Regions from separate parts of the Homo sapiens genome. Here region 1 is linked to region 2. Evidence: promoter capture Hi-C in 16 types of primary human blood cells and fetal thymus (Javierre and others, 2016). All regions are on one chromosome and are shown on one strand. Each heading gives the region's core, a stretch centred on a gene start or on the middle of the fragment in contact. The rest is flanking DNA. Distances are from core to core; before and after follow the strand shown. Region 1 overlaps MAU2 (MAU2 sister chromatid cohesion factor). Region 2 holds the start of HAPLN4 (hyaluronan and proteoglycan link protein 4).

What was found. The method cuts DNA at HindIII sites, captures the fragments that hold promoters and counts their contacts. A CHiCAGO score of 5 or more calls a contact.
Region 1: a fragment that was not itself captured here is called in contact with the fragment with the promoter of HAPLN4 in region 2 in 3 of 17 cell types (M1 macrophages, M0 macrophages and erythroblasts); the score reaches 7.1 in M1 macrophages.

What each region holds. Positions count from the first base shown.
Region 1 is chr19:19,353,579-19,356,304 of GRCh38, reverse strand. MAU2 (MAU2 sister chromatid cohesion factor) reads right to left here. Exons shown (of 19, transcript NM_015329.4): 17 at 1,860-1,950; 18 at 914-1,041; 19 at 1-597. The coding sequence ends at 523. Among named protein-coding and RNA genes, the nearest start is that of MAU2, 34 kb to the right of the region's middle. The HindIII fragment of the contact is 5,642 bases long and covers 1-2,726 here.
Region 2 is chr19:19,261,443-19,264,152 of GRCh38, reverse strand. It overlaps HAPLN4 (hyaluronan and proteoglycan link protein 4), which reads left to right and starts at 1,349. Exons shown (of 5, transcript NM_023002.3): 1 at 1,349-1,423; 2 at 2,590-2,707. The coding sequence starts at 1,421. The HindIII fragment of the contact is 10,345 bases long and covers 1-2,710 here.

The DNA.
Region 1 (2,726 bases), core at 54-2,553, 92 kb before region 2:
CTGGGATCTGTGCTTCGTCCCACACTAGCGCCATTACTTCTTCCCTCCAAATTCAGGCCAGAAACTGGCATCCGGGCTCTGGAAATTGCCTTGAGCAGAGGAAACACTCTACTCCCGCTCGGCATCAAGGCCTGGGTGATGGAGAGTCAGGCGTGGTGCCCCTGGGGCACTGCCTGCCCTGGCACACAGGATTAGGACCTGCTGGAGGCCTGCACCCTACTCCTGGCCGACGTGACCCAGATGCTGAGGCAGGACTGGCACTGAGGTCCACTCTGAAGGATGGCTCTGGAGAGACAGCGCCTGTGTGCCACCTGTGAGCCTCTGCACTGGGGGTCCTGCTGCGAGGTGGGAACGGCTACCACCCCTCCTGGGAGGGCAGGGACTGGCCCCGCACATTCCCAGGACTTGGAAGCTCTAGAGACAATCAGGAAGGAAGCACGCCTCGGGGGCAGGCTTGAGTGCCGTCTGGGTGGAAGCCGGAGACGCGCAGGCCCTGCGGAGCTGGATGGCCCCATCAAGGCCTCACAGGAGGCTGGCCAGGCTGGTGTTGGGTCCATTCTGAGCTTGGAACTGCACGGGGGGTGGACCGTCTGTCCACTGTGGGGAGGAGAGGACATGCGAGTGAGGCACTGTGGACCGTTCCCAGGGAAGAAGAGGTTGGAATGCTGCCTTCCTTGGGCTGCTCACACAGCCGGGACTCTGTTCTCCATGCCCCAGTCCAATGGGCCCCGAGGAGACACCTGGGTCCCTTGCTTGGGTGGGGGTGCCCATGGCCATCTCCCCCATCAAGGGATCACCTGAGGCTGAGTTAGGGTTTGTTGGACAAAAGAGAAATACAGCCAAGGTGCCCCTTCCTCTTGCAGGTGGGGAGCCCGCTAGTCCTGATCCCGTCCCCTAACACCCACACCCGTACCGTGATGAGGTTGTGTTCGGGGAGGCTGCAGGCCTCAATGTGGTCCTGGAGCAGCTGCTGCGAGAAGTTCTGGTGCATCTGGGCGGCTTCATGGGCATCCATGGCGTTCCCACAGGCTTTATTCAGGTCTGAGAGTGGGACATGAGCATGGGGGCCCGCCTTGCCCTGTCACTGCCCAGGCCCTCCCACTCGGTGCAGATGGAGCCCTAAGGTCAAGTCCCAGCTGCACTGGTGGATCTCTGGGTGCCTGGCACGTCACTGGACCTGAGCCCTGTCTTGGGATCACAAAGCCCATGCGCCAGCCGCCCTCATAGGGCAGAACAGGGCTGGCTGGGCAGTGAAAGCCCAATGCCAGGCTTCTCGCCAGCCCTCCAGGGAGCCCATGGCCAGCCCTCAGGCAAACAGGCGCTCATTGGGGCAGGACGCCCAATGCCCATCCTGAGGCAGCAGCCCCAGGCAGCCCACTGCACATGGAGCACCCCGTCTCCTGTCACCTCCCCAGGGCCCCAGGCGAGTCTCCGGACCTTAGTTTCGTAATCTGGAAATGGGGGAGCTGCGGTAACAGCAATGATACCCGCTGAGTGCCCGCCCTGCTCCCAGAGCTAGCTGGCCAGCCCTACCCAATAGGTATGGCTGCTGTCTGCCTTTCCGGGAAGAAGCAAGGCTGAGAGCGCCACGGCTAACAGCCCAAGTCTACCAGATACCAAGTCGCAGCCTCTGTGTCCTATAGAGACTGAACCAGACCCCGAGTCAAGCGGATGCCACAAATGCACCCACTGCCCTCAACCAGGGTCTCCTGAGGAGCACCCCCTACCCATGCTAGAACTGGGGCTGCGGCCCACGGAGGCCTAGTCCGAGCTAAGGCTGAGCAGGACATGCCCAGCAGCCTTGATCTCTGGGGAGGGCCAGGCTGGGGCTGGGGAAGAGGGGTGGCCATTGCACTCACCTCTCAGCAGTGCTGACGACCACAGCTGTACCGACATGTCCGGGATCTTGCTGGCGAGCTGCATGGCAGGCACCACCATGTTGTTACTCTCCTGTCAACCAAGAGCAGCAAGGGGGAGTGAGGAGCCTGGACCCCACTTGCCGAACCCAGCCCAGGTTGGGGTGGGGATAATCTGGAACCCACCTACTGAACCCAGCCCAGGTTGTGACCTCCTTCTGCGTCTGGTGAACTCCTATGCTTACCTCAGAGCCCATCTCAAATGGCCCTCTCTGAAGTATCACTGAAAAACAAACTGCCCTCACTTCTGGCTCATGCCCTCACAGGGGCATGGCCAATGGACAACTTTGGGGGCTTCTACCTGTTCAAGCAGAGAAAAAGCACTGATGGCCGTTAGCCCTAGACCCACAATGGGGGCTGATCAGAAATGCAGATTCATATAGGGTTCCAGGTTTCAGGTTCTGAGAAGGGCAGCAGCCCCTCCGGTTTGTCTTCCACAATTGAGTTGGCTCTCATGGGAGGCCCCCGCAGACACGCAGGGGCTCTGGGGGCACCAGCATGTAAGAATCCTCCAATCCGGACTCCCTGCTTTGTGACTGCACAGGGCCACCCCAGTTGCAGCCCTAGCATCCTCAGGATGTGGCAGGAAGAGCTCAGTAAGAGCCATCAGGGCCCATAAATGCCCATCCCTGTTGCTATGGCAAGGGCCTGGAGACGGCAGACAGGAGCCTGTGCTACACAGGCGACCAGCAGTGCTGGACTGACCCTGTCTGGACCGAGGACTCAAAGCCCTGTAAGCCTGGATGTGGGGTTCAGGTAAGACCTGGAAAATTCCCTAGATGATGGCTCCTGGCAGCCCAGGGAGCACTT
Region 2 (2,710 bases), core at 100-2,599:
GAAAAGTTCCTGCTCTACCAATAAATCATAACTAATAGCATGATACATTTATTAAGCACCTACTGTATACCTTGACTGCTACATGCTGGATCTCACTCCATATTCCAGATGGGGAAACCAAGGCTGCAGGAGGTGAAGGTCCTGGTCTGAGATCATTCCCCCGCTCAGTCCCCAAGGCATGGCTGAGCTAAGAGATGGAGCCCCAGCCTGTTGGACCACAGAAACCACAACTCTGCCTCTCCTATCTGGTCGGGTTGGGCTCATTTTAGGGGAAACTGAGTCCTGGAAGGAAGCCAAGGTGTTAGGAGAAAGACTCACTGTTTGCTATTGTTTGATTTTTTGAAATTGGGTGAAAGGCCAGGTTTAGGGGCGACTTGGGCCTGGAGTAAGTCAGGGACCTTGACCAGATGTCCCTTTTCCTTTTCTTTCTTTCTTTTTCTTTTTCTTTTTTTTTTTTTTTTTTGAGACGGAGTTTTCACTCTTGTTGCCCCGGCTGATATGCAATGGCACGATCTTGGCTCACCACAACCTCCACCTCCTGGGTTCAAGCAATTCTCCTGCCTCAGCCCCCTGAGTAGCTGGGATTACAGGCATGTGCCACCACACCTGGCTAATTTTGTATTTTTAGTAGAGACAGAGTTTCTCCATGTTGGTCAGGTTGGCCTCGCACTCCTGACCTCAGGTGATCCTCCCATCTTGGCCTCACAAAGTGCTGGGATTACAGACGTGAGCCACCGCGCCCGGCCTAGATGTCCCTTTTTCTTGCCCCTCCCAACCCCTACCGGAGATCTACTGTATGTCTAGCTACTGGATCTTCACCAAAGAGTCAGCAGCAGGCTCAGAGAGGCCAACTGTCTCCTCCAAGGTCTCACAGCCAGTGAGGGGCAGACTTGAATTGGGGCCTGTGGCTCCAGTCCACAGCAGAGTGTGACTATCGTGAGGCCCCCACCCTGCACAGGGAGCGCCTTTGGGGTGCTGGAGACCAGGACTCCACTATGACTACCCAATGGACAGGTGGCCTGCAGGCCAAATGATCTCTTTCACCAGATCCCCCAGGTCCCCTGCCAAAGCACAGTAACCAAGATAGAAGACTCAGCCCCCTCCTCCATTTCAAAGATGGTTAAACTGAGGCTCAGAGAGGTTCTTCCCTGGCCTAAGTTCAGCTAGCAGGGTGAGGGAACTAGCTCTGCACTCCAAGTCCAGAGCGCTTCTTTCTCCGCCCGCGCTCCAGCCACTGCTCCAGGGGAGCGTGGGCCCCCGCGGCCCCTTTAATACACCCCGCCTCGCCCGCCTTCCTCCTCCCCTTGCAGGCAGACGCCGGGATTGCGCCGCCTGCAGGGACCTGCCCAGTCTTAACCGGGTGTGCGGGGAGCGCAGTCCGGGTGCGTAGGGGCCGCTCGGCGGGGGCCGCGCGGGCAAGATGGTAAGTGGGGCTGCGGGCGCGGGTGGTGTGTGCCCCGTCTCCCCAATCTTGGATTCTATATCTCTCTGCCTCTGAATCTATATCCCTCTGAGTTTCTTCTGTCTCTTCCTTTTCTCTGTCTCTCACCCTCTTTGATCTCTCTTTTTGGCACTCTAGGTTCTCTCCCTCTCCATTTCTCCCTGCCTCTCTCCATCTCTGTCATCCTCTCTGCCTTTTTCCTCTCCTCTCCGTTTCTGTCTTTCCCTGTCCCTATCTCTCCCTCCTCTTCTCTGAGTCTCTCTGCCTCTGGCACTCTCCTGTCTCTCCCTCTCCCTTTCTGTCTCTCCCTCTCCCTCTCTGTCGCTCCCTCTGCCTCTCTGTCTCTCCCTCTGCCTCTCTGTCTCCCTCTGCCTCTCTGTCTCTCCCTCTCCATCTGTGTCTCTCCCTCTCCATCTCTGTCTCTTCCTCTGCCTCTCTCTCTCTCCCTCTGCTTCTCTGTCTCTTCCTCTCTGTCTCTCCCTTTCCATCTCTGTCTTTCCCTCTCCATCTCTGTATCTTCCTCTGCCCCTCTGTCTCTCCCTCTGCCTCTCTGTCTCTCCCTCTCCATCTCTGTCTCTCCCTCTACATCTGTCTCTTCTTTTCCATCTGTCTCTCCCTCTCCATCTCTGCCTCTCTCTCTTCCCTTCCCCTTTTTCTGTGTCGCGCACTCTCTTCTCTGCCTCTCCCTGCCTTTCTCTCTGTCCCTGTTCTCTCCCCGCGTCTCTCCCTCTTTCTCTCCAGCTCTCCCCCCTCCCTGCCCGCCCCGGCCCGGTTTGCTGCAGTCTCCTGGCGCACGGATAACCTTGCTGCCGCCGCTCCTCCAGCTCTTCCCCACCCCCCTATCCCCGGCCCGGGCCAGGGCCAGAAGGGGGCGGGGCAGCGAGCCTCGGGTTTTGGGGTGGGGGGGAATGAGGCGGGATCTGGGGCAGGACTGAGGGCGGGGGGGAGTCTAGGGGCGTGGGTTCTTGCAGAAGCTAGGATGTGAGGTCCCAAGAGGAGGAGGGGGAGTTCTCCAGGACCCCGGAAAGGGTGGGGACATGGGCGTGAGAGAGGTCCTCGCTGTGGGGAAGGCAGGCCCGGGAGGGAGCCAGGCCTCCGAAAAGCCAAGGCTGGGAGGCTGGACTGAGCGCCCCGTGCCCGCCCCCCAGGTGTGCGCTCGGGCGGCCCTCGGTCCCGGCGCGCTCTGGGCCGCGGCCTGGGGCGTCCTGCTGCTCACAGCCCCTGCGGGGGCGCAGCGTGGCCGGAAGAAGGTCGTGCACGTGCTGGGTG